5 separate regions of the Homo sapiens genome follow, and regions 2, 3, 4 and 5 are each linked to region 1. Evidence: promoter capture Hi-C in 16 types of primary human blood cells and fetal thymus (Javierre and others, 2016). All regions are on one chromosome and are shown on one strand. The core of a region is centred on a gene start or on the middle of the fragment in contact, and the rest is flanking DNA. Distances in the headings are between cores, read along the strand shown. Region 1 holds the start of NAPG (NSF attachment protein gamma). Region 2 has its middle 5.9 kb from the start of PPP4R1-AS1. Region 3 has its middle 62 kb from the start of VAPA. Region 4 has its middle 80 kb from the start of VAPA. Region 5 has its middle 99 kb from the start of VAPA.

Region 1 (2,638 bases), core at 57-2,556:
CCTGAGTCTCATTTCCTCTTACGAAAAATTAGAATCTCTATTTGGAAAGTTATTGTGAAGATCTCAGCTTATGAAATTATGTATGTGAAGCACCCACCACAGAGCACAATGCTGACTTTTTCTTTTCTTTTTTTTTTTTTTTTTTGAGACGGAGTCTCGCTCTGTGGCCCAGGCTGGAGTGCAGTGGCGCGATCTCGGCTCACTGCAAGCTCTGCCTTCCGGGTTCAGGCCATTCTCCTGCCTCAGGCTCCCGAGTAGCTGGGACTACAGGCGCCCGCCACCACGCCCGGCTAATTTTTTGTATTTTTAGTAGAGACGGTTTTCACCGTGTTAGCCAGGATGGTCTGGATCTTCTGACCTTGTGATCCGCCCGCCTCGGCCTCCCAAAGTGCTGGGATTGCAGACGTGAGCCACCGCGCCCGGCCCACAATGCTGACTTTCTATTAACTGTAACTGCCAGATAAAAATGCACTGGAGTAATGAAACGGGGGGAAGAGGCTGCCAAAAGGATGAATTAAGGATTATCAGTTCAGTCCCACAAACATTTGCAGGGTGCCTACTACGTACTGTACCAGAGGTGGCAGGACATACACATCAAAGGACGAACGAAGCACAGTCCCTGCCCACAGGGACAGTAAAATGCCAGATGACAAAGGTTCACCGAGGAGTTTTTGGGGTAAACCTATGGTCCCCTCCACACAGGGGGCTCTTCTAGGGCGGTGGTTCTCAACAGAGCGATGTTGTTCCCCAGATGACATTTTGGGTTGCCACAAATGGGGAAGAGATGCGACCGGCACCCAGCAGGTAGAGGCCAAGGATGCTGCTAACGAGCCTCCGATGCACAGACAGCCCCCACCACAATCTTCAGGAGCAGAGCGCCCAAGTAGAGAAGCCCTCGCCCCGCAGCACTGCGCCGAGTCCCCGCCCACACCGGCTCTGGGGAGCGGACTTCCGGCGGGGTGGACCCACGGCGCTTCCCGAGGCGCCGCAGAGCTGACCCCGACCCCGGGAGTGTGACCCAGAGGACACCGAGCCCCGGCAGCCCTGCGGGCACCAGCGCGCCGAGGCCCCTCAGCCCTGAGCCCTCCCTCCCGCCCCCCCCGGGTGCTAAGGCCGCGCCAGTGAGAGACGGACCCGGCGTCTACACACAGGCCCCCGGAAGGTTCTCACTCACTATTTCTCTGCTTTGGCGAGGTGTTCCAGCCCCTCGTTTATCTTCTGAGCCGCCATCTCCACAGTCAGGTCTCTGACGTGGAGAGAGGGTGACCCTGCCTCTTCCTCCGGCGCCAAGAATCCGCCCAAATAGGCGTGGGAACGCCGAGGAGGAAGCTGGTGCAGCGCGACAGTCGAGCGGCTACGGAGGGCCGGAGGGCCCAAGCCGCTGCGACGAAGCGGGGCTGGGAGCCTGCCGGTGCGCCCCGCAAAGAGACATTGCGCAGGCGCAGCGCGTCAAGGCTGGCCCCACCTAGGGCATCTAGCGCAGGCGCGGTGAGATACTGATGGGGCGTATTCTTTCATTCAATATTTGCAAAGCACCTAATATGTGTCAGGCACTATTTTAGATGCGGGAAGATCAGCAGACAAAAACTCCCGCCCTCTTGAAGTCTTGCTTTTTCATTAATGTGAAACTGCTGTGGATCCTGTTTGTAGGGTTAATTGGCTTTATAATTTATTACATCTGAAGTTTCTCTGTATGACAGATAGAATAGTATTCTTCTATCCATTCTGCCTTTTGGGTATTAATTGTATGTCAGTCAAGAAACGAAACAGACTTGTAAACCCTGATTACTGTCAAATAATCCGCGCCCAACCCAAATAATCGCTCTAATATTTCAAGCCGTGATAAGTGCTCTAAATGGGAAGTTGAGGGATCTAAAGTCGCGTACAGTGGTCTGGTAAAAATAGTAACCAGTAATACAGTTGGCTTCATTCATAATTCATGGTGATTTCAATATCCACATGGATGATTCCTGCAATGACTATACAGCCTCTCAGCTTCCAACCTCCTGTGATCTTTCCCACACTAGCGCAGCCACACATTCCTGGGATCACACCCTTGACCTTACTCATAACTGTGTACCCTCCGTAGTGTCAGTTTCAAACAGCTCACTTTACTTCCCCTTTCCATTCCAGCTCATACCTCCTAGTGCTAGTAATTACTTAACCTTCACCAGATTCCTCACCTTTCCCTATCCCTCTGCTCTTACACGTCCTTCTTTTCCCAGCATAAATTCATGTCCCATCATTTTAGTGCGTATACTCTCAACGGCCTTGGCTCCCTCTCCCTCCTTTCTCCAAGCCAGGAAAAACCCCAGCTCTCCACCTACTCTGGAACTGCTCTTGAGCAAGTGAATTTGACTGGAAAAAAACAAACGAGGATGCTAACATTACTCATTTTAATGATCATAAACATTAAGCCGACCTTTGGTGCTGCTGAGCAACTCTCCTATGTTTCCATGGTCAAATCACTCACCCACTCACTTGGAGGGCTGTTCACACCTTCCTTCTCAAAACTCCTACACAATCTCTGCTTGCCTGCCAACTCTCACTTATTGTTGAATATGAAATAACTATTCGAAGAGTTCTTCCCTTTGGCCTCACCACACAATCGATCGATCTTCCTGCATCTATTTGCCAA
Region 2 (2,638 bases), core at 89-2,588, 910 kb after region 1:
GCCATCACGCCCGGCTAATTTTTTGCATTTTTAGTAGAGACGGGGTTTCACCATGTTAGCCAGGGTGGTTTCAATCTCCTGACCTCGTGATCCGCCCACCTCAGCCTCCCAAAGTGCTGGGATTACAGGCGTGAGCCACCGCGCCCGGCCTAGGCTAAACTTTTTTAAATATAGGACTTTGAAAGCTTTAAAAAATAGGTAAACATAAACTGTTTGGGGGTATTATCTCTAAATTTTTGGAGATTTTAGTTTTTTCTTTATACTTTTCTGGGCACTCCAAAAACATGTATTTTTGTAATTGGAAAATTCAGAAAAGAATAAATGTTACAAAGATGTAGAATTCCGGCCGGCCATGGTGGTTCACACCTGTAATCCCAGCTCTTTGGGAGGCCAAAGTGGGAGGATTGCTTGAACCCAGCAGTTCAAGACTAGCCTGGGCAACAAAGTGAGACCGCATCTCAAAAAAAAAAAAATATGTAGAATTCCACCCCTCCCAACACCTGCCACATACCTACAAGCAGCAGCAACAACAAAACCTCCTAAAAAACCAAGAACATCGTTTGAGGGAGAAGTGAGTTGGCACCTGAGTTCAAGATTGTCTACCTGGATGATTTGTCCGAATAATGAAATGGTGGCAAACTGCAGCCATTCAAGCCAAGGGCAGCTGGTGAGAGGACACTGTTAAGGCACTTGCTTGGGAATTTCACAGAATTGTGATGAACAAAATATTATATGAGAAAGATAATTTTTGTATACTTGGCCAGAATAATTGAAACAGGCTAGTTAAAAAGTTATTAGTATGGTTTTGAAGTGGTTAATATCTTGGTCAGGATATTGAGTGAGAAACGGAGTGAAGAGGTGACTCCTAAAATGTTTCAATGACAAAATCCTCAGGGAACAGTGATAACTTAGATGGAATTAGAGATTATACCAAGACCATACATGTTGAAAGACTAGAAGTTCTCTTAATGCGAAAGAAGTTGACGAAGGACCATTTTGACAGAAAAGCTATGAATGTGAGGATACGCAAACGCTATTGCCATTATTTAGAATCAGGATTCCAGTGTTTGAATACTAATTCCCCTATTTGCTTGCTTGCTTGCTTTCTTTCTTTTCTTTTTTTTTTTTTTTTTTGAGACAGTCTCACTCTGTCACCCAGGCCAGAGTGCAGTGGTGTGATCTCGGCTCACTGCAAACTCCACCTCCTGGGTTCAAGAGATTCTAATGCCTCAGCCTCCCGAGTAGCTGGGATTACAGGCATGTGCCACCACACCCAGCTAACTTTTGTATTTTTAGTAGAGACAGGGTTTCACCATGTTGGCCAGGCTGGTCTCGAACCCCTGGCCTCAAATGATCCACCCACCTCGGCCTCCCAAAGTGCTGGGATTACAGGTGTGAGCCACTGTGCCAGGTCATTTGCTTTTTGATCTTTGTCAAAATACCCAACCTTTCTGAGCTTCGATTTCCTTTATTTTTAAAATGGTAATATCAATTTCTACTTCACAGGGCTGTTTTAAATAATCAGAAAGCACATAAAAGTGCTTAACAGGCTGGACGCGGTGGCTCACACCTGTAATCCCACCACTTTGGGGGGCCGAGGCAGGTGGATCACTTGAGGTCAGGAGTTTGAGACCAGCCTGGCCAACATGGTGAAACCCCGTCTGTACAAAAAAAAAAAAAAAATATATATATATATATACAAAAATTAGCTGAGTATGGTGGTGGGCGCCTGTAGTCCCAGCTACTCAGGAGGCTGAGACAGGAGAATCGCTTGTACCCGGGAGGCGGAGGTTGCAGCAAGCTGAGATTGCAGCAAGCTGAGATTGTGCAACTGCACTCCAGCCTGGGTGATGGAGCGAGATTCCATCTCAGAAAAAAAAAAAAAAAAGAAAAAAAGAAAAAAAAAGAAAAAGCGCTTAACATGATGCCTGGCACACGCTCTGAAAAATGTTTCATATATACGGTAATATTACCATTGGGGGAACTGATGTGAAAGTGACATAGGACATCCTGGCACATCATTTGAAACTTCATGTAAATCTGTAATTGTTTCTAAATAAAAAGTTAGAAAATGTATTAGCTATCTAGTCTGGGAATTATATTGTGTCATTGTGCTAATATTTTTCCCACCAAAGGAAGGAACCAAGGACCAGAGACACAAGCAATTTGTTACAAACAGTTACAGAGAAGTGAAATGAGAATGGAAGTAATTTCTTCTGAATCATATTACCATAGAGCAGCCTTAGTGTGAAGGGAGCTTAGAGTCAGGGCAGTTAACCACTGAACTTATCTGGGTTTGAATATGTGGTTTGCTATGGTTTATTTCCTGGTTCAACTTGACTCATCCATTCAGATTCAGAATAATAAACATTTAAACATTTAAAATAATAAGCATCTAAAATGATAAGCATTTCCTCCACACGTACTCTGTGCCAGGCATTGTGGAAGCCTCTCCCATATTGCTTTGAATGGGATTGCAACTAAAGCTTTCTAAATTCTAAGAGAAAGGCACAAAGGAAATTTACTACTGCCACTCTAATCCATTTAGTGCTCACTGTTTAAACATCTTTGTTTTCTCTTAATGAAATTAAAATGTGTGGAACAAATTGTGTAGGATGTAGTACCTCATCAGTGGGGA
Region 3 (2,638 bases), core at 55-2,554, 550 kb after region 1:
AAAACCAAACACTGCATGTTCTCACTCATAGGTGGGAATTGAACAATGAGATCACTTGGACACAGGGCGGGGAACATCACACACCGGGGCCTGTTAGGGTTGGAGGGGTGGGGGAGGAATAGCATTAGGAGAAAAAGCTAATGTAAATGACGAGTTGATGGGTGCAGCAAACCAACATGGCCTACATATACCTATGTATCAAACCTGCATGTTGTGCACCTGTACCCTAGAACTTAAAGTATAATAAAACAAAAGAATATAAAATCATTATAGGCCTCAAATTACTTCACCATTTTTCATAAACAATGTCTGGCATTAAAATTAAAATAGTGATGCATACTAGAAAATAAGAAAACACCAAGAAAATCAACAAAATGGAAATGGACTCTATGTATTCCAGATAATTGAGATATAAGGCACAGAATTTAAAATAGCTGTCCTCATGTGCAAGTAGATAAAAAATAAAGTTTTAAGTTTTGTCAAGAACTGGAAACTATTTTTGAAAGAAAAGTCTAGAAATAAGAAAATGTAGCAATCAAAATTAAGATCTTACTGTATAGGTTTAACCACAAATTAGACATAGCTGAAGAGAAAAATGGTAAAATAGAAGCCTGACCAGAAGAAAATGTCCAGGAGTGAAGTCAAAAAGACAAATGAAGAATAATACAAAAAAGAGGGTAAGATACATAGGAGACACAATGAGAAGGTCTAATGTGTAAAAAATTGAAGACCCATTAAGGGATAAAATTATTTAGGTAAAAGCTGTATTATAAGAAATAATGGTGGAAATTTTTCCAAAACTAATTAAAAATATCAAGCCTCAAAATCCAGAAGACTTTCCAATCCCAAGCCAAATAAACATAAAAACAAAACAAATCAAAAAAGTCCCACACCTCCTTTGTATTAAAACTGCTGAAAACCAAAGACAAAGAGGCCATCTTTTAAAAGCCTGAGAATAATAGACAAATTCCTTAAAGGAGCAACAAATAAACTGACAGCTGACTATTCATAGAAACAGTGGAGCCCAAAGACAATGGAATGATATCTTTAAAGGGCTGAAAAAAAATAACTGAAAACCTAGAATTGTGTGCCCAACAAAATATCCTTCAAGAATGAAGGTGAAGTAATAACATTTCCAGATAAAATTTCTTTTAAAGAAAAGGCTGTGCCAACCACAGTTTAGGAAGCACAAGACTGCTCAAGGTTTTTCCAAGAACATCCTGTGGTGGGCAATAGGCTCTGCTAGTGGGCAGTCAGGGTTTCCAACTATCCATCCACCTGGAGTTCGAGGTAGAATGAAAACCTTTGGTCATCGTGAGGGGTGGGAGGAGTGACAGAAGAGGCCTCGAGACAGAGAGCCTGGGCTTCCTGCAAACATGGGCATGTGGCAGCTGAAGCATTTTAGTAAGAAAAATACAAGAAGTGTAATTATATTTATATTGGTGAAATGTCAAATATAAATTAGGAGTACTGAAAATTTGATCATGAGTCACTTGAATAAATTAGGGCTATTATTTTTCTCTCATGCCACATGAAATCCAGACAATTAGTATTAGTCCAGCAGCTCAAAAGTGTCAGGGCTGAGAATTCTGTAATTTTCTCAGTCTTTAGTTCACGGTTTTAAGAATAAACTTGAAGACATAAAGCCAATCAAATTCACCTTTCAATCTGGAGAAGAGGAAAGTAACACAAGGAGAAAGTAGTAGATGCCAAAATAGGAAAGTACAACTTCCCAGAAATTTCCAGCAGTCTTTCACTTCTGATTGTTCAGAAGAGTATCACATGACCTTCCCCCAACTACAAAGGATGCCAAGAAATGTAATTTTTTAGTAGGGCACAGTGCTACCCCAAACAAAAGCAGGGTTCCATCCGTGAAGAAGGAAAGAAGAATGGATCTTGGGTAAGGCAAGAGCAGTAGTGCTACCGCTCCAGGAAGGCCTATGACACATGAAATACCCTATTCCAACTTTGCATGTACAAATCCATTGTAATGTCTGCTTGGACTTCCAGAATACCTCTGTGCTGAGCAGTAAAAGTCTTAAAAATCACATTTTACTCTGGAATAAGCTGTATGGTGGTTTTGGTTGGTTTGTTTATTCTTGACAGATGACTCCATACTGAATTTGTGGAACATGGTTTCAACATCACAAGATTGTTTTATTCTTTATAGTCAATAAAAAGTGTTCTCTTAGAAGTCAAATAGCTTCATTAGAAAATGGTATGTTAAGAAATAAACATAAAACTATTTCCCAAAGACATAAAATCAGATTTTTTAATTGAAAGTGCCCTGAGGCCTCATTCCTTCCCACTGGGGAAAGTCCAGGACAACTACCTAATGATGCTAATGAACTCCACCTAGCCCCTCTCTCCCACACACACAACCTAATGAGAAGCAGACATTCCCAATGCTGCACCCCTCCAACTCCACCTCCAAGTTTGTTCTCCCTTCTAATGTAGACAGCTTCTGGCAGAATGAGCCGCTTTTGGAGAATGGTAGTAATTTCCATCTTCCTGGTAGATCATGCCAAAGGGAGACACCGTCCTTCTCCTCCCAGATGCTGGCCTTAGGACCAGATTTCCTTACCTGGAAACTTAACAGCCTCTGTCCACCTGCAGCCTGCCAAGGTGTTGTAGTAGG
Region 4 (2,638 bases), core at 45-2,544, 530 kb after region 1:
CCAAACCAGAAGCTTGCAATGACTGGGTTTTCAGTTCTATCTGTTTGTTAGATGTCTTGGAGGCTGCTGGGATTCTCTGCACAGTGCTGGCCTGGAAGGAGGTACTGGCACACCACTCACCCAAAATGCCCGTCAGCTCAGATGACTTCCTGTCTCTGGCTTCAGATGGCAAAGTCAAAGAAGTGAAATGTATCAAATTCCGGGCTACTTGCTCATTCCCAATTTTTTGATGCTCAACAAATGTTATGAATAGTTAATCATTTGCTCCTAGCAAGTAAAGTCCTCCTCAGGAATGAATTGGCCATGTTGAAGAGGCACTGACTCTTTCAGACTCCTAGTGAACGAGATACCTTGGCAGTCAGGCCTCGTGCCATGCAGTCAGGCTCACTGAGAGATATCAAGGGTGTGTTGAGAGTCAAACCGGGGAGTATCTGAGGTGCAGACAGAGTTGAAATCCCACTGAGCTGATTCAAGGGGCCCTCAGTATTCACCCGGGAGACTGACCTTAATAAATTTTACTTAAACCTGTTGAAAAGAAGGAAAATGCATCCATCTGAAAATGATAAAATCTCATGGCTGGACAAGACTACGGTCACGTGTTTCAAGCTTCTTTCTGACGTGTACACACAGGGTGGTTATGCAGCATCCCCTTCCCGGGGCGCTCACTGCTTCCCCCTTGCAGAGCTGGGACCGTTCATGTGCACAGCAGTCCAGTGCCCCTTTCTCGTATCTGTAGCCTTTCAACTCTCTTAACCAAGACATCCATGCCCTCCCCTGCTTCCCCTGTGTCTCGAGCATGGTCCCGGGTGCCCACAAGGTCCCACTGCTCTCCTGTCAGAGCCCCCCATCTGCTCATGCTCCCTTTAAATAGAGGTGCCCCTCACAGAGCCCAGCCAAGCTCCACGGGTGGTCCCACAGAGCCAGAGCAAGACGATCACTCACTCCCTCTAAACACTGCACTTTTATTAACACGGCCACAGCTCGTATTCTTGGCAGCCACAATACACCAGTGCTGAATATTAACTTTATTCTCAACCAAACTTTAACCCGTTTTACTCCTGCTCCCGCTAAATCTCAGGGCCACACCTCAGACGTCTGCAGTTCGTTTTCTGAACCCAAGAGCTGGGCCTTTTGTTTGCCAGGTATTTTAATTTAAAAGTAGACAGCTGAGCCACAAATCAAACTGAGGCACACTCACCCACATCCTTGTAAAGTTGCCCCAGAACCAACAACAACAACAAAATCCAACAGGAGAACGAGAACTGTCAAGTTGAAATGCAGCCCAGACCACATTTCATTTAGACAAGCACTGCCCTATTAATTTTAGTCAATTATTAATTCCAGCCTTTTGGTATCTGGGCAGCCTGGAAGAACAAAGGCATCTGTTGAAGCGACTGCTTGGGTGACAATGATAACGGGACCATTCTTTTTTCCAGCTCTGTGGAGCACAACGGGGGGGCGGGATAAGTGTAGGGGCCACGGCACACACGGTGGGGGCTCACAGACAGAGGCCAAGTACATCTGTGATCTCCTCACACCACCCAATGCATCTGTAAGCTCCCTGCCAGTGAGGGCACCCCCCACCCCCACCACAGATTCCACCAGCCAAGAGTGTCCGCACCGGCACTGGCTTCTCTCGCCGCAAGAAGTACTGAGCTTCCTTCTTTTCCCTCTTGATTTTGAGAGTCTCTACACCGCCATGGTAGGAAGTGAGAAGGAAACGGGGGAAGGCACGTGAGGAAGACAGGCGCAAATAGAAGGCCTGCACTTCTTTTAAACTATAGACTGGACTGTGACCATTCAGACCTTCTGTAGGAAAGCATGCTTATGAAAGAGCCCATGCCGACGGACCTCCTGGCTTGGGAGAGGGAATCAACTCTCCCCTTCCAACATGCACTGGCGTACGTGGGCTGACCCAGGACATCCAAGACACTGGCCAGGAATCAGACACCCTGAGCACAGTAAGAAAAATAGGAAGCTTGGGACCATGAGCCATCCACAGCTTTCACTAAGGCGAACCAAGCTGCAGCCTTCCCCGAGCGCTGGCAACACTGGTTTCCATTCCCCATTGGGTGAACCTGAGTTTGTGCCTGCTCACTGGGGCTTACGAATTGATCATCAAAGACTGTTCTTCCCAGTCATCCTCACTTCTCTTCCTCTGTTCAAACATCATTCTAAATTGCCAGCCCACAGGTCCTCCTTTGGCCTCCCTTCTTTTGCATGGCTTTCGGTTACAAGAAAAACCGAGCATGGTTAGAAGTGTGGTTTGAGCTTTTTTCCCAAACATTTCCACGACTTTGCTGTTGTTGTGACTCTGATGTGGGGGCTCTGCTGGCCAGAGACACCCCCTCCGCTTACACAGAGCTGGCAGATGGAAACAGTATCAGGACATCTCCATTACACAACAGGCTTTCACAGGGCGATGGTTCACATTTTACTGCAGTTTCCTTTGGAAATGCTCAAAGCAACTACATCCGTTTCCTTTCATTGGGACTTTTATGTTTTTCCAGCCAAAAAAGGAGAGGATAAAGTTCATTAAGTCAGAATAGTAATAATGACGAGGTCCACATAAATTTTGTTGTGTTTGGTGCTTTTAAATATTGAAGGATTCACCACCCTCTTCCACTCCCTCTTTCTT
Region 5 (2,638 bases), core at 97-2,596, 510 kb after region 1:
TCCATCCCTGTGGTATAGGAACATCAATAAATAAAAATAAACATCCAAAATATGACTCAATGAAGTATCCAGGAGTATCTAAGTTATTTTATTCACTAAAGAAACAACCTATTTTTTAGTGAATTAATTCACTTTCCAATGTCTTTGGATTTAGGCATTTGTGTGGCCACTAACCACATCCTCCCCCAGCGTAAGTGTCCCAGGGGTCCCACACGGGCGGAAGCACAGATGCCCACCTGCAGTCACAGTGCCCTCCTCGCTAAAGCTGTTGTCTTCTGAATACGAGATCCTGAAATGCTGTTGACAGAGAGACTTTTCCAGGAGGTGGGCCAACATGAGCTGGAGTTTTACCTGGGTGTGATGGGAGAGGTGAACAGCTGCCTGGCCCTCTGCTGACTCTGTGTCCTCATTGTGGCCTGTCATTGTAGAGTAACACGGACGAGGTGGAGGGTCAGGGAGCCATGCCAGGACTCTCAGAAGATAAGGCGGAGCAAGGAGAATGGCACGGTGTCTGGGAGTCATCAGAGCCAAGTCATAGGGTAGTCTAGTGGCCATTTGTCCCTTTGGTTCTGTGCTATCCATATGGCCCTCAATGCCCAGATAACGACAGTCCAGCCCCCACTCCACACTTACATGCAGGGAACCCCATCCTTCACCAAGTTCCCTCCAAAAGGGCTCTGGGACGCCCATAGAAGATCTGCAGAGCCCGTGGGTCCAGGCTGCTGTCATTGGTCTCCTCGGCTGGCTGCCTCATCACAAGGAGGACGTGCACCCCACTGCCTGCTATCACAGCGGTTTCCCCAGGCTCTGTCCCTGTTCCTGTATCCTTTCCTGCTACCATGGACACAAGCCCCTCCCTCGATTTTCCCAGCACTAAGATCGGGCTGTAACTTCTACAAAAATATATTGAGGACTTGTGGATAACAGGGGGAATGACAAAAAAGAGGAGAAAAGAAATATATTAAAAATGAATGCCAGATACAGCTGCAAACAGTGTCCATAGGGTCCCCAGCCCTCCAGTATCTCAGCTTGCATGGCAGTTACAGTCCAGCTATCATCCGATATATCCTGGACTGGTTGTTTCCAGCTGCCCCTTTCACCCAATGAGTTTCCCAATTAGAAAGACGAATTGTGTGATTTACCCACCACCACTCTTTCAGAATGCTTTTATTATTTAAAAAAAAATTTTTTGAGACAGGGTCTCATTTGCTCTGTCTCCCAGGCTGGAGTGAAGTGGCACAATCATAGCTCACTGTAGCTTCGAACTCCTGGGCTCAAGCAATCCTCTCACCTCAGCCTCCCAAAATGCTCGGATTACAGGCATGTGACACTGCGACCCGCCTCTGAGTGCTTTTATAATGGTGCCTCTACCAGTGTCCAGGGCCTCTCCCTCTCCAAAAATCAGCAAGGGGGAGAAAAGATACCTTATCTAAACCAGCTCTGCATGATGATCTGCAGAATGCAATTATGTCAGTCCATGCTATCAGACTAGTAAGTTCAAGTTTCTTATTTTAAGAACTGGATCATAAATGCACTTCTTTCTTCCCTTCATACGGCTCTAAAATATCTGATCATATTTAAATCAGAATTACAATTCACCACTCGTGGAGCAGAGGTCCAAGCCTTTCATCCAAAATCCCAAGCTAGGAGCCAAGAGAGCCCATCCCGCAAGGTCTGTTCCCCAACAATGGGCAAGAAAGAAAGGAGGCACCCAGGACCTTCCCTCCAGAGTCCAGGCCATTGAGATACCAGCTGACCAGGGCACTGCACCACTCCATGAGCCCCATCACCGCCCTGGTCAAGAGGGCAGGGACCCTTGACCGAGGTGCATGGGAGCCAAAAGTGTGTGTAGGGCAGTAAATATCACCTGGCTCTGGCCCAGATCCAACAGGGCTTAGCTTGGCCATAGGCAAGAACTGAACAGAACATAAGGAAAGGGTTCTTCACCTCCATGTGACTGTGGCTGCTCCCCGATGTACTGTAGGATGCAACCAAAGGCCCTTTGAAGTCTTTTCCCCCAAAGAAGTAATTGGAAAGAATAACCCAAACTTCCACCTAGAAAAACAGAAGAGCTGTTGGCAGTTTAAACATAACAGTCCCAGGTGTCCTCAGATTCTAGCCATCACATTTTCCACAATGCTGGGGCTCTGTCTCAGAGTCCCTGTACGCTCAGCTCCTCTCAGAGCTCATCCTTTTGGGACGGGTACTGTGGCTTACCATTCCAGGAAGGAGATAGGCCCATCGAGGCACCAATGTTGGCTGTGCACTCATCTTGAAAACAGCAACAAGCACCTGGAACACAATTGCTTTGACTTCATCCAGAGCCTCTGGAATCAGGAAAAGTAGACTTGGTTCTCTGGACTCATGGCTGATTTATCATATGGCTGTAGGTGTGTGGCTCTGTGGCTCAGTGTCTCCATCTGCTACCTCCTTCTTCAGATCCTTAAAATTAAAGGGAGGCCTAAAAGGCACTTGACATTGAGTTGTGTTGTTTTTGTGTGGATAACCCCATGAAAGAATAATCCATTAACAGAGGCATCTCCTACTGTCCCTTCATGTAGTAATCCACCCACTCACCCTCAGCAAAAGTGTGGCACTGCCTTCAAAATATAATTTCAGAAGTTGAAGACTTGTCCCA

What was found. The method cuts DNA at HindIII sites, captures the fragments that hold promoters and counts their contacts. A CHiCAGO score of 5 or more calls a contact.
Region 2: a fragment that was not itself captured here is called in contact with the fragment with the promoter of NAPG in region 1 in 4 of 17 cell types (monocytes, non-activated CD4 T cells, total CD8 T cells and 1 more); the score reaches 7.3 in monocytes.
Region 3: a contact is called between a fragment that was not itself captured here and the fragment with the promoter of NAPG in region 1, in 16 of 17 cell types (fetal thymus, total B cells, naive B cells and 13 more). The highest score is 25.7, in fetal thymus.
Region 4: a fragment that was not itself captured here is called in contact with the fragment with the promoter of NAPG in region 1 in 6 of 17 cell types (fetal thymus, naive B cells, endothelial precursors and 3 more); the score reaches 10.5 in fetal thymus.
Region 5: a fragment that was not itself captured here is called in contact with the fragment with the promoter of NAPG in region 1 in 3 of 17 cell types (endothelial precursors, naive B cells and M0 macrophages); the score reaches 6.8 in endothelial precursors.

What each region holds. Positions count from the first base shown.
Region 1 is chr18:10,524,695-10,527,332 of GRCh38, reverse strand. NAPG (NSF attachment protein gamma) reads right to left here and starts at 1,306. Exons shown (of 12, transcript NM_003826.3): 1 at 1,175-1,306. The coding sequence starts at 1,230. RefSeq lists a silencer at 914-1,163. The HindIII fragment of the contact is 5,497 bases long and covers 1-2,638 here.
Region 2 is chr18:9,619,424-9,622,061 of GRCh38, reverse strand. No RefSeq gene overlaps it. Among named protein-coding and RNA genes, the nearest start is that of PPP4R1-AS1, 5.9 kb to the right of the region's middle. The HindIII fragment of the contact is 2,301 bases long and covers 188-2,488 here.
Region 3 is chr18:9,974,205-9,976,842 of GRCh38, reverse strand. No RefSeq gene overlaps it. Among named protein-coding and RNA genes, the nearest start is that of VAPA, 62 kb to the right of the region's middle. The HindIII fragment of the contact is 6,845 bases long and covers 1-2,638 here.
Region 4 is chr18:9,992,627-9,995,264 of GRCh38, reverse strand. No RefSeq gene overlaps it. Among named protein-coding and RNA genes, the nearest start is that of VAPA, 80 kb to the right of the region's middle. The HindIII fragment of the contact is 1,372 bases long and covers 609-1,980 here.
Region 5 is chr18:10,011,931-10,014,568 of GRCh38, reverse strand. No RefSeq gene overlaps it. Among named protein-coding and RNA genes, the nearest start is that of VAPA, 99 kb to the right of the region's middle. The HindIII fragment of the contact is 6,892 bases long and covers 1-2,638 here.